7 separate regions of the Homo sapiens genome follow, and all the other regions are linked to region 3. Evidence: promoter capture Hi-C in human tissues and cell types (Jung and others, 2019). All regions are on one chromosome and are shown on one strand. The core of a region is centred on a gene start or on the middle of the fragment in contact, and the rest is flanking DNA. Distances in the headings are between cores, read along the strand shown. Region 1 overlaps OIP5-AS1 (OIP5 antisense RNA 1). Region 2 holds the start of NDUFAF1 (NADH:ubiquinone oxidoreductase complex assembly factor 1). Region 3 holds the start of VPS18 (VPS18 core subunit of CORVET and HOPS complexes). Region 4 has its middle 51 kb from the start of INO80. Region 5 overlaps OIP5 (Opa interacting protein 5). Region 6 has its middle 40 kb from the start of CCDC32. Region 7 overlaps EXD1 (exonuclease 3'-5' domain containing 1).

Region 1 (4,130 bases), core at 470-2,969, 400 kb before region 3:
GGCACATGCCTGTAGTCCCAGCTGCTCAGGAGGCTAAGGTGGGAGAATCACTTGAGGCCAGGAGTGCGAGGCTGCAGTGTGCCATGATCACACCTGAGAAAAGCCACTGAACTCCAGCCTGGGTAACAGAGCAAGACCTTGTTTCTAAAAAGTTGGCCAGGCACAGTGTCTCACACCTGTAATCCCAGCACTTTGGGAGGCCAAGGCAATTGGATCACTTGAAGTCAGGAGTTTGAGACCAACCTGATCAACATGGGGAAAACCCACCTCTACTAAAAATACAAAAATTATCTGGGCATGGTGGCGCATACCTGTAATTCCAGCTACTCGGGAGGCTGAGGCAGGAGAATTGCTTGAACCCGGGAGGCAGAGGTTGCAGTGATCTGAGATTGTGCCACTGCACTCTGGCCTGAGCAACAGAGTGAAACTCCGTCTCAAAAAAAAAGTAAAAAGACCTCAAATCAACCAACCTAACTTTAAAGGAACTAAAAACAATAAGAAAACCAACGAAATCAAAAGCTGGTTCTAAGAGGGTCATGGGACTCTCCAAATCTGTAGCCACTTGGTCGAAAATGCAGGTGGCTGGGGGTACCTCCGAAGTACAGCTGGCATCTGAAGTGAGGACAGTCTTGTTGAGGACCATGCCCTTTGACCTGTGAGGTCTATGCTAATTCTTGGGTGGTGTCAGAAATGTATTGCCATGGCCAGGCTCAGTGGCTCATGCCTGTAATCCCAGCACTTTGGGAGGCCAAGACGGGCAGATCACGAGGTCAGGAGGTCGAGACCATCCCAGCTAACACCGTGAAACCCTGTCTCTACTAAAAATACAAAAAATTAGCTGGGCGTGGTGGCAGACGCCTGTAGTCCCAGCTACCTGGGAGGGTGAGGCAGGAGAATGATGTGAACCCAGGAGGCAGAGCTTGCAAGTGAGATTGCGCCACTGCACTCCAGCCTGGGGAACAAAGCGAGACTACGTGTCAAAAAAAAAAAAAAAAGAAATGTATTGCCATGTACCACTTGATGTCAGAATACTGACCAACAGAACAAGGAGGAAGTGACAGTGAGTGACTTCTGCGGCAAAGTCATAGAGTAGACTATGGCTTTTGCCTTATTCTCTTAGATTGCTTGTTTAGGGAGAAGCCAGCCACCGTATAAGAGTACTCAGACAGCCCTGAAAGAGGCCTACATTGGGAGGAAATGAAACTTCCCCCTAAACAGCATGAATGTGCCAGCCATGTAAATGTGTCACCACAGAACTCCATCAGACTTCAAGCTTTTTTTTTTTTGAGACGGAGTCTTGCTCTGTTGCCCAGGCTGGAGTACAGTAGCGTGCCATCTCTGCTCACTGCAAGCTCCGCCTCCCAGGTTCATGCCATTCTCCTGCCTCAGCCTCCCCAGTAGCTGGGATTACAGGTGCCCAACACCACACCCGACTAATTTGTGTGTGTTTTTAGTAGAGACAGGGTTTCACCGTGTTAGCCAGGATGGTCTCGATCTCCTGACCTCGTGATCCGACTGCCTTGGCCTCCCAAAGTGCTGGGATTACAGGCATGAGCCACCGTGCCTAGCCAGATTTCAAGCTTTTAAGAGACCCTAAGCCAGAACCTCCCCAGAGCTAAGCTATTACCAAATTCTTGAGAGACGTAATACATATTTGTTGTTGTTTTAATCTACTGAGTTTTGGGTTATTTGTTATACAGCAATAACTAATATACTTTGCTTCCTCTAAGGACAGAGAGAATGATGTATCCCGGGAGTTAGTGCACCTTTTTTACTTCACTATGTAAATAGGGAATTTAGAATATATTTCACAAAACACAATGAATACTATTATCACTATCAATCAAATTAAGTTTATAAGTGTCATATTAAAAAAAAAACCTTCCTAGCTGGGCGTGGTGGCAGGCCTGTAATCCTAACTACTCAGGAGGATGAAGCAGGAGAATCACTTGAACCCCGGAGGCGGAGGTTGCAGCAAGCACCAATGTACTCTAGCCTGGGCAACAGAGTGAGACTCTGTCTCAAAAAAATAAATAATTAAAAAAAAAAAAAAACTTACCAGGCGCGGTGGCCCAAGCCTGTAATCCTAGCACTTTGGGAGGCTGAGGGGGGTGGATCACCTGAGGTCAGGAGTTGGAGACCAGCCTGGCCAACATGGCAAAACTCCATCTCTAATAAAAATACAAAAATTAGCTGGGTGTGGTGGCAGACACCTATAATCCCAGGTACAAGAGAGGCTGAGGCAGGAGAATAGCTTGAACCTGGGGGGTGGAAGTTGCAGCAAGCTGAGATTGTGCCACTTCACTCCAGCCAGGGCAAAAAACCAAAACAAACAAACAACAACAAAAAAACTTGCTGGGCTAGGTGCTCAATTTCTGCCCCCTAGATAGGGATATACTATATCGATGTAAAACTGTTGCTTGAGCAAAAATTTAAGTTGTCATTTATCAAATATTTATTCAGTGCTTCCTTTCTTTGAAAATTCTAAATTATTTATTTGAATAAATATATGCACGAGATAAGGTAAAATAGGGTAAACAGTGTTTCTTGCATATCCTTTTAGGAATATTCTATGGCTACAAAACATCTCTAGAGACATTTCCCACAAATGAAAGCACACTATATATTGTTCTGTACCTTGCTTTTTCTGTTAATGTATCTTAGAGATCATTCCATATCAGGACAAAGTACCAGTCTGTAAGTAAAGTACTACCTTTGATGTACTTTATTTACATCAGTTCTCTACACCATATATATATATATATATATATATATATATATATATATATATATATATATATATTTTTTTTTTTTTTCCCCCTGAGACAGTGTTGCTTTGTTGCCCAGGCAGTGGTGCAATCTCAGCTCACTGCAACCTCTATCTCCCAGGTTCAAGCAATTCTCCTGCCTCAGCCTCCAGAGTAGCTGAGACTACAGGCACTTACCACTATGCCCGACTAATTTTTGTATTTTTAGTAAAGACACAGTTTCACCATGTTGGCCAGGCTCATCTCTAACTCCTGACCTCAAAGAACCCACCCGCCTTGGCTTCCCAAAGTGCTGGGATTACAGGTGTGAGCTAACACACCCAGCCTACAGATGGATATTTAGATTACTATAAATATTGTGCTATACCAATGTCAAGTTTCTATTATTGTCTACTTGGACTTAAAGTTGTAAATCCAAGTGGTAAGGCCTTCTTCACTCTAAAGGGCATTTTGCCTCATCAGTTTTTATTCCCTTTCTTACTACTGATATATATATATCAATCATATATATCATATATACACACACATATATACATATACATACAAAGATTGTTTTATTTTTCAATGTTTTTATTGTGATAAAATACACATAAAATTCACCATATTAACCCTTTCGAGTATACAATTCAGTAGTATTAAGTACATTCATACTGCTGTGCAACCATCACCGTAATCCATCTCCAGGACTCATTTCTTCTTCCCAAACTGAAACCTTGTACACATTACACAGTAATTCCCTCTCGCTGCCCTTCCTGCAACCCCTGGCAACCATCATTCTACTTTCTGTCTCTATAATTCTGATGCTGCCCAAGCTGGGGTGCAGTGGCTATTCACAGGCACAATCAGCATACTGCAGCCTTGAACTTCAGGCCTCAAGCAATCCTACTACCTCAGTTTCCAGAGTAGCTGGGACTACATACAAGGTTTCAATCCTTGAAGCAGTTGTACACTGAATGGTTTTCATATAATTAATCAAGGTATAAGTAGGTGTTAATGGGTTGAACTGTGTCCTCCCAATATTCGTATGTTAAAAGTCCTAGCCCCTACTACCTCATACTGTGACCTTATTTGGTAATAGAGTCATTACAGATGTCAGCAGCTAAGATGAGGTCATTAACAGAGCAGGATGGACCCCAATCCAATATGACTAGTCTCCTTATATTAGGACTCAGATACACACACAGGAAGAACTTCATGTGAAGACTGGAGTTATGCTGCCACAAGTTAAGGAACCACAAGAAATTAGAAGGACTGGAAATTTTTTTTTCAGTGCCTTCAGAGGGACGGCCCTGCCAACACTTTGGTTTTAGACATCTGACCTTTATTTATAACTATCAAACAATTTCTGTTATTCTAAGCTAC
Region 2 (3,804 bases), core at 1,200-3,699, 510 kb before region 3:
TGAGGTCAGGAGTTGGAGACCAGCCTGGCCAACATGACGAAACCCTGACTCTGCTAAAAATACAATAATCAGCTGGGTGTGGTGGCATGCACCTCTAATCCCAGCTACTCAGGAGGCTGAGGCAGGAGAATCACTTGAACCCGGGAGGCGGGGGTTGCAGTGAGCCGAGATCACGCCACTGCACTCCAGCCTGGGTGAGGAAGACTGTGGTTCAAAAAAAAAAAAGCAGCAAACAACTAATGATTAGAGACATGCAAATCAAAACCAAAATGAGATACCACTTCACACTCATTAGGATGGCTACTATATTTTAAAAACCAAAAAAACAAGAAACGTGTCAGTGGGCTTGGAAAGAAGGTGTGAAAAGATCAAAGATCAAAAACAGCAAGAGAATGCAACAGGATTTAAAATCAGTAAGAGAAGATTTTAAGGAGAGGAGCCAAGGACAGTCAAGCATTTCCATCCTAGAAGGATGTGGCCATTTACAGAAATAGGGAGACAGGAGGAATTAGTAGGAGGAAAAATGACACATTTAGTTTTAGACATTTAGTTTTCTTTATTGCTCAAGGATATTTCCTAAAAAACAACAACAAAAAGACATTTCGATTTTTTCTTTTTCTGAGACGGAGTCTGGCTCTGTGGCCCAGGCTGGAGTGCAGTGGTGCGATCTCGGCTCACTGCAAGCTCCGTCTCCCGGGTTCACGCCATTCTCCTGCCTCAGTCTCCTGAGTAGCTGGGACTACAGGCGCCCGCCAGCACGCCCGGCCAATTTTTTTGTATTTTTAGTAGAGACGGGGTTTCACCGTGTTAGCCAGGATGGTCTCGATCTCCTGACCTTGTGATCCGCCCGCCTCGGCCTCCCAAAGTGCTGGGATTACAGGCGTGAACCACCGCGCCCGGCCGATAACTTATATTTGAAACTAGAAAAGAGGTAGAGGCAGGATGGGCCATGGAGAGACAGCCCGCATTAAAGGTTGTGGGAAGAGAATAGAAGAGTCAGTGATGGGGGCAGAAAGGTAAGGTTTGAGGGGGCAAGTGTAGAGTCTAGAGAAGCCAAGCCGAATTTGAGGAAGAGGAGGCGGCGCGGAAACTAGTGAAGGAGAAAACATGGAAAGGGCTAGTGTATTTAGTGAGCTCCTTCGGAACCTTAGAGAACAAAGGTGTTACGGAACTATATGCTCTCAAATTCACACTAAGCACTAAATTCCCGCCGCTATGGTACATTCTGGGGAAAGGAAAAACAGCGCAGTCTGGACCCAAGAAAGCTCACAGCGTGGCAAAGGAAGTGAGAAGTGAGTGAAAGATACAATGTTGATTCTGTCTTCCCTGGCAGTAAGAAAAAAAAACAAAAACAAACAATGTTTAAGTGCTTTGGCCGGGCATGGTGGCTCACGCCTGTAATACCAGCACTTTGGGAGGCCGAGGTGGGTGGATCATGAGGTCAGGATTTCGAGACCAGCCTGGCCAACATGGCGAAACCCCATCTCTACTAAAAATACAAAAATTATCCGGGTGTGGTGGCACACACCTGTAATCCCAGCTACTTGGGAGGCTGAGGCAGGAGAATTGCTCCAACCCAGGAGTCGGAGGTTGCAGATCGCGCCACTGCACTACAGCCTGGGCAACAGAGTGAGACTCCGTCTCAAAAAAAAAAAGTGCTTTAAGAGAGGTGTGCACAAGGTACAAACAGATGCCCTGAGCAACTGGCGACCGTGTGGGGCGAGACTCGGGAAGGGCTGGTAGGAGGGGCTGCTGTCCAGGTGCGTGGTGGTCCTCAAGAATTCATGGGGGCAATTCCAGCAGAATCGGCCTTTTGAGGCCTCAGGCAGTTCTTGTGGGGACCGAGGCGACAGATAAGGAAGGAAGGGATACAGGCGCGTTAGCAATAACTGGGTTCTATTTGAAAGACGCAGGGGGCCGGGCTTGGTGGCTCGCGCCTGTAATCTCAGCACTTTGGGAGGCCGAGGCGGGTGGATCACGAGGTCAGGAGATCGAGATCATCCCGGCTAACATGGTGAAACCCCGTCTCTACTAAAAATACAAAAATTAGTCGGGCATGATGGCGCGCACCTGTAATCCCAGCTACTCGGGAGGCTGAGGCAGGAGAATCGCTTGAATCTGGGAGGCAGAGGTTGTAGTGAGCCGAGATCGCGCCACTGCACTCCAGCCTGGGCGACAGAGCGAGAATCCGTCTCAAAAAAAAAAAAAAAAAAAAAGACGCAGGGATGGAGTTTGCCGCCTGAAAGGATACAGGAAGGAGAGGCGAAAAACTTATCTGAATTCTCACTGCTTCCTTACAACTGGCGACCAAGTGGACCAAAAACCTCCAAAAACCTCAGTTGGCTGGGCTACGGGGTCCTTGCTGTCCTTCCTGGGCTTCTGTACTCGGCCGGAACTTTGGTGTTCTGACGCCTTGTTTGGCATCGGAAGGGAAAAGCAGATGGACCTATACGGGTAAAGTGGCTTCTGGGCGGAAGGTACACTATAGGCTCGGGGAGGTAAGCGGCGGCAGGCCGGCGGTTGGTGTGTCCCGGGTGTGGGGAGGCGACAGAGCCCTGGCACTTGAGGGTTGAGGGGGCCTCCCCAGCGCGGCGAACCGTCTAGCCTCCGGAGGCCAGGCCGTGAGTGCGGGAGGTATACGCCAAGGCGGAAGAATTTTGCCACTCACTACCTGTGTGACCTCGGGTAAATTAGCCTTGGAACGTCAGTTTCTTCGTCTCTATAATTGAAATAATAATAGTACCTCTCTCAGGATTGTTGTGAGCCGTCAGTGAAACACTTAGAGCAGTTTCTGGCACATGGTAAGGCATGGATAGCTTTACTAATTCTACTCACTTCTAGCTGCGTGGATTGTGTTGTCAAAACCCACCGTCAACCTCAGGGCGGTATTGTCCAGTTAATAGTTTAGATTTTCTGTTTACTGGTAGAAAAAAAAAAATGAAACAAAGCATTTATAATTAAAGTTATATTATTAGAGAAGTAACACTACGGAGGGTTTGGAAAACATTTTATGAGCTATCATTTGTTTCTCAAATTTCGGTATGTGTAGAGGTAAAATCATTTAAGTGCAACCGGCGCGGGGGAATTTAAATATTATCCATAATTCCGGGACCTCAGATCAACTGTTAATTTTTCCTGGTTCCCTTAACGTTTATAATACATGTGAAAACATACTGTTTACATGGTTTTGATTTATCAACAAACCTTATTGATAATGTCGGCTGGGCGCGGTGGCTCACGCCTGTAATCCCAGCACTTTGGGAGGCCGAGGCGGGCGGATCACTTGAGGTCAGGAGTTCGAGACCAGCCTGGCCAACATGGTGAAACCCTGTCTCTACTAAAAATACAAAAATTAGCTGGGCGTGGTGGCGCACGCCTGTAATCCCAGTGACTGAGGCAAGAGAATTGCTTGAAACCAGGAGGTGGAGGTTACAATGAGCCGAGATCGCACAACTGCACTCCAACTTGGGGGACAGAGCTGGACTCTGTCTTAAAAAAAAAAAAAAAAAAGTTGGGCATGGTGGCGGGCACCTGTAATTTCAGCCACTCGGGAGGCAGAGGCAGGAGAAGCACTTGAACCCGGGAGGCGGAGGTTGCAGTGAGCCAGGGTCGTGCCATTGCACTCCAGCCTGGGTGACAGAGCGAGACTCCATCTCAAAAAAAAAAAAAAAAAAAAAGGTTGGGCGCCGTGGCTGACGCCTGTAATCCCAGTACTTTAGGAGGCCCATGTAGGCGGATCACCTGAGGTCAGGAGTTCGAGACCACTCTGGCCAACATAGTGGAACCTCATCTCTACTGAAAAAA
Region 3 (3,561 bases), core at 998-3,497:
TGAGATTACAGGCGCCTGCCACCACGCCCGGCTAACTTTTGTATTTTTAGTAGAAACAGCGTTTCACCATGTTGGCCAGGCTGGTGTCGAACTCCTGACCTCAGGTGATCCACCCTCCTCAGCCTCCCAAAGTGCTGGGATAACAGGTGTGAGCCACTGCACCTGACTTTTTTTTTTTTTTAAAGAGACAGGAGTACAGTGGTGCAAACACAGCTCACTGCAGCCTTGAACTCCTGGGCTCAAGTGATCCTCTTGCCTCGGCCTCCCCAGTAGTTGGGACTGCACCATCACACCTAGCTAATTTTTAAAAATTTGTTTTGGTAGAGACGGGGGTCTCACTATATTGCCCAGGCTGGTCTCAAACTGCTGATTTCATGTGATCCTCTTGTCTTGGCCTCCCGAAGTGCTGAGATGATAGGTGTGAGCCACCATGCCCTGCCAGGCCAGATACTTAACCACTACCCTGTATTGGTTCTCTTTGGAAAGGGATAGGATATTTCCTGAAAACTCCAAATTCACTGCTTTACTTGCCTGGAATAGAAGAAAGGCCCAGTGAGTTAACAGTCCCCAAACACCTCTCTAGTCCCTACTCCTAAGCTCTGTGAGCTCTTGATTACCGGAGCAGTGTATCCTTGCCCAGGCTCATGCACAGCTGATTGCTGGAGACGACAAGACTGGTAATGCGCTCGGAAGGGGTGAAGTCAATGCGCTGCTTTGTGAAGATGGGCACTTCCTTCTCCAGCTGGGCATTCACATACCCTACAGGTAAGGAATGACAAGAAGATTAGCTGTGGAAGAGACAGGTGAAGGGCAAGGAGAGGCAGAAAAAACACCACAGTGCTCCTCGCCACTTTCCTGACATATTCCTATCCCCAGGACCTTGGTTAACAAATAGTTTGATATCAAGTCGTTTGCTGGTCACCTTTACAATAGAGGTCTGGAGCTCTTTCCACACTCTGACAGCAGTGAGGGGTTGATTCTTTGAACCCTTAAGATGCTGTCACAGCATGATATACCTGCTCCCACTGGTAATGGGGCTGCGTGGAGGTGGGACGGGACTGGTGGTCTGGGTATTCTCCCTTATCAGGTCTTTGGCCCAGCAATCCCAGCTTAACTGAAGTAGTATAGCCCCATTCTCTGCCCCCCTCCCTGCCCATGCGGTAATGAGCCTCAGTGTAGAGTTGGCAAGTGCTGGGATATTTTGAGCATTGAATGAAGGTAAAGACTAGAGTGAAAGCAGCTCCAATTCGTTAACTCCACTCACTGGAACAGTTCCCCAGGGCTCCCTATGCCCTCATTCTCCTGGAGACTCACTACTTTCTACAAAAACGTCCCCAAACTCCAGGCTGCACCCAGCTATAGCCAAGGCCAAAAAGATTTCATCTCCATTTTCCCCGTTCAGCGACAAAATTCCCTCTGGGACCCTCCCTTCTTCCTCTGCAATACTCCGCCTTCACCACTTTCTTTGTCCATTCCTTCCCTCCCACCTCCAGAAGGGGCCTGGTGGGAAAAGCATCAGCAGAAGCCGGGAGCCCATTCTAAGTTCTCCCAACAGCCCAACTGCGCCCTGTAGGTGAGTAATTCCTTATCTGGGCCCCAATTCCCTCTCAAAAGGACCCTAGCGGTAGAGCCTAGATCACGCGGCAGCTCCCGTTGCTCTTTCAAACTTCGACTATCCACCAGCTGGGGGCCAAGAGAGCCTGAGGAGAATCAGGGGCCTAGACCCGGAAGGCACGGCCCAGGGGATGACCCCGAGCTCTTGGAGCTGCCCTCCTCGCTGCTCCCACGCAAATGCTAGGAGAGCCGAAAGGGGCAGCGGCACCCTCCTCTTCCTTACCCGAGTGGGGGATGCCCACGCTAGGGCAGCCGGGCTGCAAGACGGCCGAGCGGGACAGCGAGTTCTCGTACTCATCCAGGATGGACGCCATGGTGCCCGGCCTCTGGGCTCTTTGTCCGGGGCCTGGGGATTACAAAAGGGCTACCCCCCCGGGGTCCCCGTCGCCCCAGAATGGAAGCTGTAACTCCCCAGCCTCTGACAGATCCTGGGAACCTGCAGCCGTCGCCTCCTCTTTAAAATCCTGAGGATCCTCTTGCTCTTGCCTTATGCAGCGAGATAATCGGGCAGCCCTCGTCCTTGAATCTGGCGCAGTCTTGCACCTTACTCCCCGCCCCCGCTACAAAAAAATCACAGGCTCCCTTCAGCCGGTGCCAGGTGATCCCAACCTCGCCCCGGCAGCTCAGCTGACTCCCGCCCCCGTGACGCGGGCCTAAAACGTAACTTCCGGGTTCTCAGAGCCCCGCGTACGCTGGCGCACAACGTCGCCGGGCCAGCCAGCAGAAGGCGAGACGAGGGCTGAGGGCTGGGCGCGTGGCGAGTGCTGCTGAACACAAGCCCCGCCCCCAGGATCCTGCTGCAGTTCCGAGCTTTGACACCAGGAGGCAATCCCGGCTTTCTCAGCCGGCCTTCCCCACCCGCCCCGCGCCGCCCAGTTTTGGCTTTCGTGCCCAAGCTCCGCTCCCTCGGGTGGTCTGTCCAGCCTCCCTGACCAGCTCCCGCTCCCGCCTCTCTAAACAGCCTCGGGGAACCTCCCGTTCCTCAATCCAATCGCTGTCTCTATCCCACCGTCACAGGGCACACGCAGACAACTCCTGGCCACTCTTCTCCCTTACCCAAAGGCCCCCCAGCTTCCAGGAGACCGCAGAGCTGGTGGCCAGGCTAGTGGGAAGCCCTGTGCCAGGAACCGCCCTGACCTGCCCCACAGTGGCTCCTTGGCTCAGGGTTGCTGGGCCGCTTCCATTCACTCATTCACCAAAATGTGGTTGAGCACTTACTCTGTGCCAGGCCTTGGGCTGGGCGCTGGGGTCACAGAGATGAGGACAGCCCCTCCCCGCCCTGGAAAAGGTCGTAAGCCAGCAGGGGCGCTGGACCCGTAAATAGACCATTCATACTAGAAAAGCAAGTGATGGATTATCCATCAGGCACTTACTCCACGAATGAGCGTCCACTCTGTGCCAAGCACTGTTCCAGGCTCTGGGGACGTGGCAGAGAACAAGACGGAAAATGTCTCTTGCCTGGTGGGGCGTACCCAGCGACGTGGCCACGGCACTGAGAGCGTGAAGGAGCAGGGAACAAATACCTGCCAAGCCTAGCAAGAACGAGGGACAAGTGGGAGCAAGCGTGAAGGCGGGGGCCGCCCAGCCTGAGGTGGAGAGGGGAGTCCTCAGCCAGGGACCTGCGAGGGCTGGGGCGCGACTGTGGTTGGGTTTTCCTCTCTCACCTGCTTAGGCGACCCAGATGGAGTCTGTTCCCTTCTGGGGCCCTTGGATTCTACCTTGCTAAAGTGGAAGGCTCTGGACTAGGGTCGCCACCGTCCTGGCTCTGCTGGGCGGCCCCCGCCTAACAACTAAGAGCATCCCTTTGCTCTCAGAAGTTTCCAGGTTTGCACCATACCTTATGTGGTTGGGTTACTCTTGCTCAACTTCCTGGCCACGTGCGGAGAACTGTGACTCTCACCAGCCCCACTGAGGGCTATCTGGGCTCTCTGGCTTGGAGGGGCACTA
Region 4 (3,924 bases), core at 1,329-3,828, 270 kb before region 3:
AGGAAGTGAGATGATCGGAAATGTAGATTATATATATATATATATATAATTATTATTTTTTCTGAAACAGACTTTCGCTATTTTCGCCCAGACTGGAGTGCAGTGATGTGATCTCAGCTCACTGCAACCAGAAATGTAGATGATAGATCGTCCTGGTTTAAGCTGTAGGATGGATTGAAAAGGAGCAAGAATAATATGAGGAAGACTTGTATGAAAACTCTTGCATTGATTAAGGTGGAAGATGTGAATGCTTGAATTTGGGAGGGATACAGTGGGATACAGTTGGTAGGATGGAGAGGAATACACAAATACAGGATTTTAGGAAGCATAATGAACCAAATGACCAATTGAATATGGATGGTAAAGTGTGGAAAGGAGTCTTGGCTGGCTCCCAGGTTTCTGACTTGGGCATCTGTTTGGAAGTTGGTGCCATTTACAGAGAGAATATATTGAGAGGATAGTTTGCAGAACTGTGATTTGATAGTTGAATTTTACATGTTTCTCATTTAGAATACATTTGGAATTCCTACATGGATGTGTCTACTAGACAGTCAGATATATGTGAATATAGAGAAGGAGAAAGATCTGAGCTAGAGAGATTGGGAGATGTAAATGGCCCTTGAAGTGATGAGCATATACAGTATTTTCCAGGTTTGAGTATAGAGAGTAAGAGAAAAGGAATGAGAAAGATCACACTCCTAAAATAGGGCAAGGCTGGGCGCTGTGGCTGATGCCTGTAATCCCAGCACTTTGGGAGGCTGAGGTGGGTGGATCACCTGACGTCTGGAGTTTGAGACCAGCCTGACCAACACTAAGAAACCCTGTCTTTATACTAAAAATACAAAATTAGCTGGGTGTGGTGGTGCATGCCTGTAATCCCAGCTACTCAGGAGGCTGAGGCAGGAGAATCACTTGAACCCGGGAGGCGGAGGTTGTGGTGAGCTGAGATCTCGCCATTGCACTCCAGCCTGGGCAACAAGAGTAAAACTCCTTTTCAAAAAAAAAAAAAAAAGGTAAAAGCCCGGGTGTAGTGGCTCACGCCTGTAATCTCAGCACTTTGGGAGGCTGAGGTGGGCGGATTACGAGATCAGGAGATCAAGACCATCCTGGCGAACACAGTGAAACCCCATCTCTACTAAAAATACAAAAAGTTAGCCGGGTGTGGTGGGCACCTGTAGTCCCAGTTACTCGGGAGGCTGAGGCAGGAGAATGGCGTGAACCCAGGTGGCGGAGCTTGCAGTGAGCCGAGATTGCGCCACTGCACACTCCAGCCTGGGCGACGAGCGAGACTCCCTCTCAAAAAAAAAAAAAAGTAAACAGGAAGAGATACACACAGAGACCAAGAAGGAGAAGACAAATAGGAAGAAAATCAGAATAGTATTATGTAAACCAGAAACCTCATTTGTAGTTTGATGAACTCTCATTGTAAGTTATATCAACCACAAATTATTTTTAACGGTTTTACTAAGATATAATTTTTTTTTTTTTTGAGACAGAGTTTCACTCTTGTTGCCTAGCCTGGAGTGCAATGGCTTGATCTCAGATCACTACAACCTCCGCCTTCTGGGTTCAAGCGATTCTCCTGCCTCCTCCCAAGTAGCTGGGATTACAGGCATGCACCACCCCGCCTGGCTAATTTTGTATTTTTAGTAGAGCCAGGGTTTCACCATCTTGGTCAGGTTGGTCTTGAACTCCCGACCTCAGGTGATCCACCTGCCTTGGCCTCCCGAAGTGCTGGGATTACAGGCGTGAGCCACCGCGCCCGACTGATATAATTTTTTTTTTTTTGAGACAGTGTTTCACTCTATCACCCAGGATAGAGTGCAGTGGCGAAATCTTAGCTCACTGCAACCTCCACCCTCTGGGGTTAAGTGATCCTCCCACTTCAGTAGCTGGGACCACAGGCGTGCACCACCATACCCAGCTATTTTTTTGTATTTTTAGTAGAGACAGAGTCTCGCCATGTTGCCCAGGCTGGTCTCGAACTCTTGGACCCAAGCGAACTGCCCACCTTGGCCTCTTTTTCTTTCAAGTCAAATGATTTTGTTAGACTATGTTTTGGTGTTGGTCATTCTGGATCACCATTTTCAGATACAGTGTGATTTTTAAAATATGCTGTATAGTTTTTTGTTTGTTTTTTAGAGATGGGGTTCTTATTATACTGCCAAGGCTAGACTCCAACTCCTGGCCTCAAGTGATCCTCCCAAAGTGCTGGGATTACAGGCATGAGACGCCCTGCCCGGCCATCTTACATAATATTCTTAATGCATTTTAGCTTTTTATGCACCAATATATTAGAGTGTTCATCTATTTATTTTTTATTTTTTTTATTTTGAGACACTCTCACTCTGTCACCCAGGCTGGAGTGCAGTGACATAATCACTGCTCACTGCAGTCTTGACTTCCTGGGCTCAAGCAATCTTCCCACCTGAGCCTCCCAAGTAGCTAGGACTAGAGGCATGTGCCACCATGCCCAGCTAGTTTTCAAAAAAAAATTTGGGGCTGGGCGCAGTGTCTCACACCTGTAATCCCAGCACTTTGGGAGGCCGAGGCAGGCGGATCACAAGGTCAGGAGTTCGAGACCAGCCTGGCCAGTATGGTGAAACTTCATCTCTACTAAAAATACAAAAATTAGCCAGGCACTGTAGCATGCGCCTGTAGTCCCAGCTACTCAGGAGGCTGAGGCAGAAGAATCGCTTGAACTCGGGAGGCGGAGGTTGCAGTGAGCCGAGATCACGCCATTCCATTGCAGCCTGGGTGATAGAGCAAGACTCCATCTCAAAAAAAAAAAAAAAAGGGGTTTCTTTGGGCCAGGCATGGTGACACATGCCTGTAATCCCAGCTACTGGGGAGGTGAGGCAGGAGAATCACTTGAACCCAGAGGTGGAGGTTGCAGTGAGCTGAGATCACGCCACTGCACTCCAGCCTGGGTGAAAGAATTAGACTTCGTCTCAAAAAAAAATTTTTTTGGCGGGGGCAGACAGGTTCCCACTATGTTGTCCAGGCGGTCTAGAACTCCTGGCTTCAATCAGTTTTCCTGCCTTGGCTCCCCAAAGTGCTGGCATTACAGGTGTGAGCCACCACATCAGGCTAGGCTCAATTAATTTTTTAACTTCACAGAGCTTCCTATTTTGTTGTTTTTGTGTAGTGTTAAAATCACAGTTATTTGCTTTCTGAGATTTCTTGGCTTTGTCTTCTTCCCTAGTACTTTTATCTCTCTTTCCTTTCTGTTTTCCCTACCCTGCTCAGTTTTTGTTCCATTTCTAGAAGTTTCTCCCCAGTGTGTGAACTTGTCCTGGAAGGGATCCATGGTTGGTTATTATACAGAGCTTATAGGGTCTAGACTGTTCAAGCCTGGGTATACCTTCAGACTGTGGGATCCTTTCATGCAATTGCTATTGGAGTGAAAAAACCCCTTTTGGTTTCAGCTGTTGTTCTCAAATTGGCGCTTAACACTCTCTAGTGAATACCAATTTTCTTCTTAGGTCTGTCAGATACCCCATTGCTTCCCTCTACTGTTTTTCCCACATGGTTGTCAGTATCTCTTGGGTTGTCCCCACCTCTTTGCAATTTCAGGTTTATGAGTTACTTCATCACCCAGTATGTTGTAAATATTGTTCATGGGTTTGGAGTTTTGTCCTCTAATTATTCTGTTTTTACATGGGGATTTGAGAAGATCTAGAAAGTATGCCACCGTTACCACCCTGCCATCTTCCCAGAATCTTGGTATATACTTTCCTTGCTTCTAAAAGGCCTAATACTATGGCTTCCATCTTGGGTGCACTCTTTCTGTCAGATCACTTGTTCTGGTTGCCATGTTGGGAGAATACTTTTGGGAGGATTCGGCCCGACAGAGAACCAAGGACTCCAGCCGACAGTCTGTGAGGGACTATGTCTTCATCTCCCACAACCAAACAGTGGTCA
Region 5 (3,940 bases), core at 137-2,636, 410 kb before region 3:
TTGCCTTAAGAACTTACTTTAGATTCTTATTGAATTCATAATACTTATCTCTGAAAATGTCTTTGACTGTAAATTTAGGAATTAAGATGCAGAGTCCCATGTGTCCTCTGATCTAAAGTTGCATGGTTGGTCTGAAAATAGAGTTGGGCTTAATGTTGACTTCTATTACTCCTGCATGGAGCAGTTGTTATGAATACTAATACATCACTTTTTAACTTCTGTAAAATACAGATCATAATATTCTATAGGTAATGTTTAATAAATTGCCTGAATAATATACAATTTGTCTTTTTCAGTTGTAAACTGAGGTTAACAGAGAAATAATGAAAGCAATGATAAAACGAAACAGTTACCAAAGTACTATTTTCTATAATTTTGTTTTATGTAGCACTTTGAGTAACTTATCAAAATATTAATTTAATATATATTTGTAAAGTGTTAGACTAGGTGCTGGGGATAAAAGGTAAGCAAAAATAGACACACTATCCTTAGAATTTATAATCTAGTCAGAGAGGGACATTCAAATAATCACATAAAGATACATAAAATTACAGGCCTGGCGCAGTGGCTCACATCTATAATTCCAGATTTTCGGAGGCCGAGGCAGTGGATCACTTGAGGTCAGGAGTTCAAGACCAGCCTCGCCAACGTGGTGAAACCTCGTCTCTACTAAAAATACAAAAATTAGCCAGGCATGGTGGTGCGCACCTGTAATCCCAGCTACTCAGGAACCTGAGGCAGAAGAATTGCTTGAACCCAGCAGGTAGAGGCTGCAGTCAGCCGAGATCGTGCCACTGCACTCCAGCCTGGGCGACAGAGTGAAACTCCATCTAAAAAAAAAAAAAGATATGTAAAATTATGACGCTAGTAAGGGTTTTGAAGTAAAGGAACATAGGGATACACGCACATAAAGCAGGTAACTGACCTGGTCTGGGTTTCTGGGAAAGAAAGCCTCTGTGTAGAAGTGAAGTTTCAGCGGTGGTCTGAAAGACGAATAGGAATTAATAAGGTGATGGAGGGATGACCTTTATGAGGTCCTTAAAAGAAGGCCTGCCTAATCAAATTTACTTTTTCAGAATGTCACTGTGGTTGTCCTGTGGAAAACAGGTGGGAAGGACAGCAAGCAGACCACTAAGGAGAGCCTTTGGCACTAGCACAATCAAGAAATTACATATCCAAGTGGTGGAGGATAGAAAAGCTAACTTGGCTGGGATGTAGCTAGCAGAATATATATATATAAATTTTTTTTTTTTCTTCCCGAGATGGAGTCTTGCTCTGTCGCCCAGGCTGGCGTGCAGTGGCCTGATCTCTGCAACTGCCATCTCCCGAGTGTTGAAGCGATTCTCCTGTCTCAGCCTCCTGAGTAGCTGGGATTACAGGTGCATGCCGCCACGCCCGGCTAATTTTTTGTATTTTAGTAGAGACGGGGTTTCACCGTGTTGCCCAGGGTGGTCTCGAACTCCTGAGCTCAGGCAAATCCACCCACCTTGGCCTCCCAAACTGCTAGGATAACAGGCGTGAGCCACTGCGACTGGCCTGCTTATGCTTTTTTTGAGGGGAGGGTGGTGAGACAGGGTCTCACTCTGTCACCCAGGCCTGAGTGCAGAGGTGTGAACATGGCCCACTGCAGCCTTGACTTCCTGGTCTCAAGTGATCCTCCCAACTGTATCCTGAATAGCTGGCACCACAGGTTTGTGTCACCACGCCTGGCTAATTAAAAAAAAAAAAAAAATTGTAGAGACAAGGCCTCACTGTGGGCTCAAACTGGGCTCAAGGGATCCTCACTTCAGCCTTCTGAAGTGTTGGAATTACAGCGGTGAGCCATTGTGCCAGGTCTGATTATGCGTAGAGTTGCAAAAATTTGGTCCTATAAGCAAGGTTGATGCTTTCTGGCAAAAACCAGCCCAATAAAAGCTTTTACTTTTTAAAGAATAAGACCTAATATAGGCCAGGTGCAGTGGCTCACGCCTGTAATCCCAGCACTTTGGGAGGCCAAGGCGGTCAGATCACGAGGTCAGGAGTTCCAGACCAGCCTGCCCAACATAGTGAAACCCTGTCTCTACTAAAAATACAAAAATTAGCTGAGCATGTGGCGTGTGTCTGTAGTCCCACTACTCGGGAGGCTGAGGCAGGAGAATCGCTTGAACCTGGGAGGCAGAGGTTGTGGGGAGCCAAGATCATGCCACTGCATGCCAGCCTGGGTGACAGAGTGAGACGCCGTCTCAAAAAAAAAAAAAAAAGACCTAATAAGTACCACATTGAGTCACCCCTGGTTGCTCTGGGCGACAGAGCAAGACTCCGTCTCTAAATAAATAAATAAATAAAATTAAATGCTTGACCTTTACGTCAAATTAAACTGGCTAGCTTTAAATAGATTTTTTTCAGATTACATGCTCACTCTAGAAAAAAGAGATGTGTGACAAAATACAGAGTGAAAGTATACTTCTTCCCTTTCTATTTTTTGAGAAGCACAATATAGCATCCTGGTAAGTGAGCAGGCTCTGGAACCAAACTGGATTGAAACTGTGGCTTGGGTACTTACTAGCCATGAACTGGAACAATTTATCTGTTTTAATTTCCTTCTATGTAAAATAGGGATAAAAACTATAGTAATTAGAGCTGTAGTGAGCATTAAATGAGTTAATTAATGCATCTAATGTAATTAGAGCAGTGCTTATCACATAGTTGGTGCTCAATGAATACTATTATTAAACTCCATGTATGTGGATACACAGAGACACAAAATAAAGGCAATTACAAATATGTTAGAAAAAGTATTCCAAAACTCCTTATGGCTGTAAAAGCAGCATTACATATTGAGGTTTGAATGGCTGCCTGTTCCATTGTACAACACACTGGAAACTGCTACAGCTAGGTCTCAAGTAACCTGGTCCTTTGTTCTTTAACATCTGAAGAGTACTTTGGCACAGGTCTTTGGAAAGGCTCCTTCTCCCATCATCAGTATGTACTGCATTATTTAAAATTACCCATTTCAAGTAACGACACACAATGAGATTTCAGTGCATTCTCAGCCCATGCTGCTTTATTGCTAAAATATATATATACACAGGTGCAGAGCTTCCAACTTTTTTAACAGTTCCTTTTTACATCAAAGAATTAAATTTCTTCAAAAACCCCAAAGATGCATAGATTAAGAAGCAAGCTGCCTTTTGTAATACTTAAAATAATATTCAATGAAACTCTTAACGTTATACACCAATGGTGCAATGGAGAATATGGAGGACAGCAAGTAAACACAGTGAGCAACTCTTATTCTTACAAGGCAGTAGGTAAAGTATAATGTGAAGGACAGTCTAAGATAATCTTTCTGGTTATAAGAAATGGGTCGGTTTTGTGATAAGTGCCAAGACTGTTACTGTTTAAGGATTGATGATAATGTATTACCAGAATACCTTTCTTATCCCTGGGAGAAAATATTTTTTCACTGATGGAATGACATATCACCAAGGGAGAAAAAAACCTGAATACTGTCAGTAACTAAGATACCTATTCTGACTTTAAAGAAGATTTAGGACTTCATGGAGAAATCTGTGATGTCTGGTTTCCCAAAATTAAGTATTTTAATGTGCCTTAGTGGAATAATCGGAGGAATTTAGAGAAACTCTGTTCTTAATCTTTACTGGCTGACAGACATGCTATCAAGTAATTGGGGAAGACAAACTATATTCAGGATATGACATCTCACTTCATATATTTCAATGGAAACCAAACATCACAGTCACAAGAAGTCTAATTCAATTCTGAACCACTGGAAAGTTACCATTCCACTTTATTCATTCCCAAAGTTATTTGTAGCAAAATCCTACAGGAAAGAATGAAATAAAAAGTTTTCAAAAAATTTTTTTCAATCATAGAATGTAAAACCTTGAATGTGCTTTGTGAAAATCATTTAGTCTAATCTTGAATTCTATTTAGGCTT
Region 6 (4,086 bases), core at 1,145-3,644, 370 kb after region 3:
TTGGAAGGCTGAGACGGGAGGATCATTTGAACCTGGGAGGCAGAGGTTGCAGTGAGCTGAGATCACATAACTGTACTCCTGTATCGGTGTACTGCTGCTCTGGCAAGACCCTGTCTCAAAAAAGAAAGTAAAATAAAAAATTCAGTATATTTACTTTATTATTATTATTTTTATGAGTCAGAGTCTCGCTTTATCACCCAGGCTGGAGTGCAGTGACGCTCACTGCAACCTCCACCTCCCAGGTTCAAGCGATTCTCCTGCCTCAGCATCCTGAGAAGCCAAGACTACAGGCACATGCCACCATGCCCAGCTAATTTTTGTATCTTTAGTAGAGATGGGTTTTTGCCATGTTAGCCAGGCTGGTCTTGAACTCCTGACCTTAGGTGATCTGCCCGCCTCGGCCTCCGAAAATGCTGGGATTACAGGTGTGAGCCACTGCGCCCAGCCAGCACATTTGTTCTAATTAAGCAGTTTCCCTTATAGGAGTCTATTAGAAATATTTACAAATGTGTACAAGGTCATATGACAAAGGCATTCACTGCAGCATTACTTGTAATGGAAAAGTATATGGAGACAATCTGAATGTCTAAAATTAGTTAAATTCTGGAGTTGTGAAACTGCCTTGCTATGGACTACCATGTGACTGTCAATAATAATGATGGAGATCATTATGTACTGATGTGGAAAGATTTTATGCTTTTAAGAAAAAACAGCAAGTTACAGTATTATTTTCAGTTATATAAAACAGTACCTGGCATACAGTAGCTAATCAATAAATATTTATTGAGCTGAAAGAGCATGAGCCCAGCCTGTTAAAAACAAATGACCCCCCAACACACACTTACAAACAAGCCCACATATTTTCATGAAAAAAAATGTTCTGGAAGGACAGTAACCACTGTCAATTGTGTTTATCCCTAGTGCATGAGCAGCTTTAACTTTCTCTGGCTCTGGTCTACACAGCCCACATTGTGTGAGGTGAGGCCGCAGTGGGCCCACACAGGCACCAGGCAGTTCACAGGTGTTGTTGCAGAGGTCTTTCGTCTGCACTCTCAGTGGGAAAGAACAGTAAAGCCCAACCACCCCAGCCACCATCCACGGTGACTTGCAGGTCATGGAGAGAAAAAAAAAAAAGGCCAAGGACAAAGATATGTAATTATTGACACTATTTTATTTATACCTAAGGAGAGACACCAAAGTATGAGCATCCAAGGGCCAGGGCATTGGGTGGACCAGACATTATGGGTGGGTGGCTTCTAAGGCTTGGAGAACCCAGGCCAGAGGCCACCCAGTATTCCCTGAGCACCTGTGGCTGAATCCTGAATGTCCTGGGTCTCTGCACTCAAAGCTTAAGGGAGAAACAAGGGGTGTCAGGCAGGGTCAGCTCTGAGGAGCAGGCGAGGTCCCAGTGGCCTGCCAGGGTGAGGTCAAAGGAGCTGAGGTCTGGGTAAGAGGACACTTCAGGTCAGTTACAGTGGCCTGAGAAGGACTGGTAGGCCTCCCTGAGGTCTTGGAAATAAGTCTAAAAGAGTGTGGCTTTAGAATATTTAGAAGGACTTTTTCAGAATTTAGGAGACATAACATAGTTTGGGGAGACTTTAGAGGAAGAGTGCTCAGCCATACATGGTGGCTCATGCCTGTAATCCCACCACTTTGGGAGGCTGAGGCGGGCGGATTACCTAAGGTCAGGAGTTTGAGACTAGCCTGGCCAACATAGTGAAACCCTGTCTCTACTAAAAATACAAAAATTGGCCGGGCGCAGTGGCTCACGCCTGTAATCCCACCAATTTGGGAGTCGAAGGTAAGTGGATCACGAGGTCAGGAGTTCGAGACCAGCCCGGCCAAGATGGTAAAACCCCATCTCAACTAAAAATACAACAAAATTAGCCAAGCACAGTGGCAGGCGCCTGTAATCCGAGCTACTCTGGAGGCTGAGGCAGAATTGCTTGAACCCGGGTGGCAGAGGTTGCGGTGAGTTGAGATTGTGCCACTGCACTCCAGCCTGGGCGACAGAGTGAGACTCCATCTCAAAAAAAAAAAAGAACAGCTTGGCTGGGCATGGTGACTCATGCCTGTAATCCCAGCACTTTGGGAAGCTGAGTGAGGGGAATGCTTGAGCCCCAGGAGTTGGGAGACCAGCCTGGGCAACATAGCGAGACTCTGCCTCTACAAAAAATTAAAAAATTAGCTGGGCATAGTGGCATAGGCCTGTAATCATAGCTACACAGGAGGCTGAGGCAGGAGGATTGCTTGACCCCAGGAGGTCGAGGCTGTAGAAAACCTGAGCAACAGAACAAGACCCAGTCTCCAAAAAAAAAAAAAAAAAAAAAAAAAAAAAGAAAGAAAAAGAACAGCTTGATGAATTTTTCCAAAGGTATACACACATGTAACCACCACCCCAATGAAGACAGAGCCTTTCCATCATTCCAGAAAGTTCTCTCATGCCTCTTTGCAGCCAATTGCCCCAACCCCCATAAGCCCCAGGCAACCACTGATCTGCTGTCCCTATAGCTTAGTTTTGTCCATTCTAGAATTTTACATAAATCCAGTTATACAGTACATACTCTTTTGTGTCTGGCTTCTTTCACTCAACATAATATTTTTAAGATTATGCATGTTGTGGCTGGGCGCGGTGGCTCAGGCCTGTAATCCCAGCACTTTGGGGAGGCCGAGGTGGGCGGATCACGAGGTCAGGAGATCGAGATCATCCTGGCTAACACGGTGAAACCCCGTCTCTACTAAAAATACAAAAAATTAGCTGGGCGTGGTGGCGGGTGCCTATAGTCCCAGCTACTCGGGAGGCTGAGGCAGGAGAATGGCGTCAACCTGGGAGGCTGGAGCTTGCAGAGCCGAGATCGCGCCATCGCACTCCAGCCTGGGCGACAGAGCCAGACTCCCGTCTCAAAAAAAAAAAAAAAAAAAAAAAAAAAAGATTATGCATGTTGTGTGTATCAATAATTTGTTCTTCTTTTAAATTACTGACTTGTCTTTAATTGTTCTGGATATACCACAATTTACTTATCCATTCTCCCGTCAACTGATATTTGTGTCCAGTTTTTGGCTACTGTGAATAAAACAGCTATGAACATTCATGTACAGCTGTTCTGTGAATATACATTTTCTTTTATCTTGGGTAAATACCACAAAATGGAACTACTGTTATGTCTGTTAGTTTTATTTTTAAAAACTGCCAATATGTTTTCTAAAGTGGTTGTCCCATTTAACACTCCCACCAGCAATGAATGAGAGTTCTAATTGTTCCATGTGTTCATCAGGACTTGGTAGTATCAGTCTTTAATTTTAGCCATTCTGGTGGGTGTGTATTTCACTGTGGCTTTAATTTGCATTTCTCAGTTGGCTATTGATATTGAGCATATTTTCATTTGTTTATTGACCCTTTTTATATCCTATTTAATAAACTATCTTTTACCTATTTACTTTTATAATTCAAAAAATTTGTTCAACACAATTTTACTGAAGTAGTTGAGGTAATTATGGTTATTTCCTTTTTACAGGTAAGGAAAATAAATCCAGAGAGACTTATCCACCTTTTCCTTTTTTTTTTTTTTTTTTGAGATGGAGTTTCGCTCTTGTTGCCCAGGCTAGAGTGCAATGGCGGGATTTTGGCTCACCACAACCTCCGCCTCCCAGGTTCAGGCAATTCTCCTGCCTCAGCCTCCTGAGTAGCTAGGATTACAGGCATGCGCCACTATGCCTGGCTAATTTTGTATTTTTAGTGGAGACGGGGTTTCTCCATGTTGGTCAGCCTGGTCTTGAACTTCTGACCTCAGGTGATCCACCCACCTCAGCCTCCCAAAGTGCTGGGATTACAGGCATGAGCCACCGCGCCCAGCGCTTATCCACCTTTTCTTGTAACAGATAACCAGCAGCTGGCCAGGTACAGTGGCTCACTCTTGTAATCCCAGCACTTTGGGAGGCTGAGGTGGGTGGATCACTTAGTAGAGATGAGGTTTCACTATGTTGGCCAGGCTAGTCTCAAACTCCTGACCTTAGGTAAGTTCAGGAGTTGAAGACCAGCCTGACTAACATGGCGAAAACACACTCTCTACTAAAAATACAAAAATT
Region 7 (3,660 bases), core at 705-3,204, 310 kb before region 3:
CACTTCAGAGGCACTACGTTTATTTTTTTTATTATTTTTTTTTTGAGATGAAATTTTGCTCTTGTCGCCTGGAGGCTGGAGTGTAGTGTCACGATCTCGGCTCACCACAACCTCCACCTCCCGGGTTCAAGAAATTCTCCTGCCTCAGCCTCTCCCGAGTAGCCGAGATTACAGGCATGTGCCACCACTCCCAGCTAATGTATTTTTAGTAGAGACAGGGTTTCTCCATTTTGGTCAGGCTGGTCTCGAACTCCCGACCTCAGGTGATCCACCCGCCTTGGCCTCCCATAGTGCTGGGATTACAGGCATGAGCCACCACACCCTGCCAGAGGCACTACTTTTTTTTGAGACGGAGTTTCACTCTGTCGCCCAGGCTAGAGTGCAATGGCACAATCTCAGCTCACTGCAACCTCTGCCTCCTAGGTTCAAGCGATTCTCCTGCCTCAGCCTCCCGAGTAGCTGGGACTACAGGCTCCCGCCACCACGCTCGGGTAATTTTTGTATTTTTAGTAGAGACGGGGTTTCACCACGTTGGCCAGGCTGGTCTCGAACTCCTTACCTCGTGATCTGCCCGCCTCGGCCTCCCAAAGTGCTGGGTGTGAGCCACCACACCTGGCGCAGAGGCACTACTTAAAAAAAAAAAAAAAAAAAAAAAAAGAGTTGAATAGGGCAGGCACAGTGGCTCATGCCTGTAATCCCAGCACTTTGGGAGGCTACGGTGGGCAGATCACAAGGTCAGGGGTTTGAGACTAGCCTGGCCAACGTGGTGAAACCCCGCCTCTACTAAAAATACAAAAATTAGCCAGGCGTGGTGGCGCATGCCTATAATCCTAGCTACTAATGGTGCTGAGGCAGGCGGATCACTTGGACCTGGGAGGAGGAGGTTTCAGTGAGCCGAGATTGTGCCACTGCACTCCAACCTGGGCAACAAAGCGAGACTCCTTCTCAAAAAAAAAAAAAAAAAAAAAGAATTGAATAACAGGATTGTTATATTTGTGCAGTACTTTACAGTTTACAAAATACTTTGACAAACATTAGGGGAGTCAACTACTTTTAACACATTGAAATGTAGTTTCTGCTATTTTCCTGTTTCTTTTTTTTTTTTTTTTTTTCGAGACAGGGTCTCTCTGTTGCCCAGGCTGGAGTGCAGTGGTGCAATCTCTTGGCTCACTGTACTGCATCTCTGCCTCTCAGGTTCAAGGTATTCTCCTGCCTCAGCCTCCCAAGTAGCTGGAATTACAGGCACTCACCTCTACGCCTGGCTAATTATTGTATTTTTAGTAGAGACAGGATTTTACCATGTTGGCCAGGCTGGTCTTGAACTTCTAACCTCAAGTGATCTGCCTGCCTTGGCTTCCCAAAGTGCTGGGATTACAGGCGTGAGCCACCACCCCTGGCCCGGATTTTCCTGTTTCTAATAACATGCTTATTGCTTTCTCTTGATTTATCAGTTTTACACATAATCTATTCAATTTTATTGTGATAAATAAAGATTTTGCTCCTTTATTGCACCCACTCTTCCCTAGGTCTTTCCAACTTAGTTATGTCACAATTTTTTACTAAGACAGAATTCAGAATTTATGGGAGGCTGAGGCAGGAGAATTGCTTGAACTTGAGAAGTGGAGGTTGCAGTGAGCCAAGATCATGCCCCTGCACTCCAGCTTGGGCCACAAATGAGACTCCATCTCAAAAAAAAAAAAAAAAAAAGACCAAATTTAGTCTATATGTTATTACGACTGTAATGATAACTCTCTGCTGAGTCAAGGAGAATCGTTTCTCTTCTTGAACAACTTTTTGTTTTACATAGAGTTAGTAATTGCCTCATTTTATTCCTCCCTCCCTCCCTCCCTTCCTCTCTTCCCTCCTTCTCTCCTTCCCTCCTTCCTTACTTTTTTGAGACGGGGTCTCACTCTGTTGCCCAAATGGGACTACAGGCACATCCCACCGTGATAGCTAACTTTTTGTATTTTTTGTGGAGACAGGGTTTCACCATGTTGCCCAGGCTGGTCTCAAACTCCCAGACTCAAGCAATCTACCCAGCTCAGCCTTCCAAATTGCTGGGATTACAGGCATGAGCCACTGCACCCAACCAACTTTGTTTTCTTTATACCTATGACTAAGCTGTTCCATATCTTTAAGGATGCCATACAGTTTTTTCACATGCTTAAATTTAGTGGGCTAGGGCCAAGCATGGTTTCTCATGCATGTGAGAGTGAGACCCTGTCTCAAAAAACAAACAAACAAACAAAAACACGATTCTGCCAACCTATGCTGCATTTTTGTCTTGAAGTCATCTCTCCTGGAGCCCTCTACCCTCCTGTTCCAATGCAGGCTGTTTTCTCAAGCCTGGAAGCTGCAAGATGCAGGGGCCAAGGGAAAATTTTCCCTTTGCCTTCTGTAGGTTTGCTGAAAACTTAACTCACAAAAAGGCAGATTAAGAGGAGAAAAGACACAACAAATTTAACGCGTACATGAGAACCTTCAGAACGAAGACTCAAAGATACACGGGTAATTGTCCATTTTTATGTTTAGGTTCAACAAAGTATGGACAGCTATGGAGAAATATGATTGAACAAAAAGATATGATCTAATGTTAATAGACTGACTGGGAAACCCAGCAAGGCCTGTCTGTCTAGATTCGTCTTGGCTCTCATAGCATGTATTTCTTCTTTCCTGGTATGTAGCGGGACCCTCTATAGAATGGGGATCTATGACCTACTGTCAAATAAGGTGGGTCAGATCATTTTTATGGCCCTTTTTTACATACAGAGGCAGAGGGAAAGTTTTATCTATATGTGTGTGTATGTGTATATGTGTATATATATATGTGTATGTATATATACAAGTACATACATTTTTTGAGATGGAGTCTCTGTTGCCCAGGCTGGAGTATAGTGGCTCCATCATGGCTCACTTCAGCCTTGAACTCCCGGGCTCAAGAGATCCTCCTGCCCCAGCCTCCCAAGTAGCTGGACTACTTGGGACTATAGGTGCATACTACCACACCTGGCTAATTTTTGTTTGTTTTTTGTTTTTGAGATGGAATCTTGCTCTGTTGCCAAGGCTGGAGTGCAGTGGCACCATCTTGGCTCACTGCAGCCTCCATCTCCTGGGTTCCAGCGATTCTCCTGCCTCAGCCTCCCCAGTAGCTGGGATTATAGGTGCCCACCACCATGCCCGGCTAATTTTTGCATTTTTAGTAGAGACAGGGTTTCACCATGTTGGCCAGGCTGGTCTTGAACTCCCAACCTCAGGTGATCCAACTGCCCTGACCTCCCAAAGTGCTGGGATTACAGGCGTGGGCCACCGTGCCTGGCTGATTTTTTTTTTTTTTTTTTTGAGACAGAGTCTTGCTGTGTCGCCCAGGCTGGGGTGCAGTGGCATGATCTCGGCTCACTGCAACCTCCGCCTCCCAGGTTCAAGCAATTCTCCTGCCTCAGCCTCCCGAGTAGCTGGGACTACAAGTGCATGCCACCATGCCTGGCTAATTTTTTTTGTATTTTAGTAGAGATGGGGTTGCACTGTGTTGCCCAGGCTGGTCTCAAACTCCTGAGCTCAAGTGATCCTCCTTCCTTGGCCTCCCAAAGTGCTGGGATTACAGGTGTGAGCCACCGCACCTGGCCTAGAGTAATATTTTTAGGGTTTTTTTTTTTTTTTTTT

Evidence for each region. Contacts are between HindIII fragments. The study calls those that stand out against the background at their distance.
Region 1: a contact is called between a fragment that was not itself captured here and the fragment with the promoter of VPS18 in region 3, in 1 of the 25 tissues and cell types used here (spleen).
Region 2: the fragment with the promoter of NDUFAF1 here is called in contact with the fragment with the promoter of VPS18 in region 3 in 3 of the 25 tissues and cell types used here (lymphoblastoid cells, spleen and stomach).
Region 4: a contact is called between a fragment that was not itself captured here and the fragment with the promoter of VPS18 in region 3, in 7 of the 25 tissues and cell types used here (IMR-90 fibroblasts, dorsolateral prefrontal cortex, heart left ventricle and 4 more).
Region 5: a fragment that was not itself captured here is called in contact with the fragment with the promoter of VPS18 in region 3 in 1 of the 25 tissues and cell types used here (lymphoblastoid cells).
Region 6: a contact is called between a fragment that was not itself captured here and the fragment with the promoter of VPS18 in region 3, in 1 of the 25 tissues and cell types used here (lymphoblastoid cells).
Region 7: a fragment that was not itself captured here is called in contact with the fragment with the promoter of VPS18 in region 3 in 3 of the 25 tissues and cell types used here (liver, lymphoblastoid cells and spleen).

Annotation. Positions count from the first base shown.
Region 1 is chr15:41,288,346-41,292,475 of GRCh38, reverse strand. All of the region lies in intron 2 of OIP5-AS1 (OIP5 antisense RNA 1), which reads right to left. Among named protein-coding and RNA genes, the nearest start is that of OIP5-AS1, 7.7 kb to the right of the region's middle. The HindIII fragment of the contact is 4,813 bases long and covers 1-4,125 here.
Region 2 is chr15:41,401,141-41,404,944 of GRCh38, reverse strand. NDUFAF1 (NADH:ubiquinone oxidoreductase complex assembly factor 1) reads left to right here and starts at 2,449. Exons shown (of 5, transcript NM_016013.4): 1 at 2,449-2,801. The HindIII fragment of the contact is 27,298 bases long and covers 1-3,804 here.
Region 3 is chr15:40,893,136-40,896,696 of GRCh38, reverse strand. VPS18 (VPS18 core subunit of CORVET and HOPS complexes) reads right to left here and starts at 2,247. Exons shown (of 5, transcript NM_020857.3): 1 at 1,838-2,247; 2 at 618-759. The coding sequence starts at 1,928. RefSeq lists an enhancer at 1,432-1,521 and a silencer at 2,362-2,531. The HindIII fragment of the contact is 19,251 bases long and covers 1-3,561 here.
Region 4 is chr15:41,165,775-41,169,698 of GRCh38, reverse strand. No RefSeq gene overlaps it. Among named protein-coding and RNA genes, the nearest start is that of INO80, 51 kb to the right of the region's middle. The HindIII fragment of the contact is 6,382 bases long and covers 1-3,924 here.
Region 5 is chr15:41,305,610-41,309,549 of GRCh38, reverse strand. OIP5 (Opa interacting protein 5) reads left to right here. Exons shown (of 5, transcript NM_007280.2): 5 at 1-277. OIP5-AS1 (OIP5 antisense RNA 1) reads right to left here. Exons shown (of 5, transcript NR_152821.1): 3 at 926-983; 4 at 709-830. Among named protein-coding and RNA genes, the nearest start is that of OIP5-AS1, 25 kb to the right of the region's middle. The HindIII fragment of the contact is 3,593 bases long and covers 1-3,182 here.
Region 6 is chr15:40,522,992-40,527,077 of GRCh38, reverse strand. It overlaps a transcript of CCDC32 not described here. Among named protein-coding and RNA genes, the nearest start is that of CCDC32, 40 kb to the left of the region's middle. The HindIII fragment of the contact is 5,556 bases long and covers 1-4,086 here.
Region 7 is chr15:41,203,927-41,207,586 of GRCh38, reverse strand. All of the region lies in intron 7 of EXD1 (exonuclease 3'-5' domain containing 1), which reads left to right. Among named protein-coding and RNA genes, the nearest start is that of EXD1, 25 kb to the left of the region's middle. The HindIII fragment of the contact is 8,031 bases long and covers 1-3,660 here.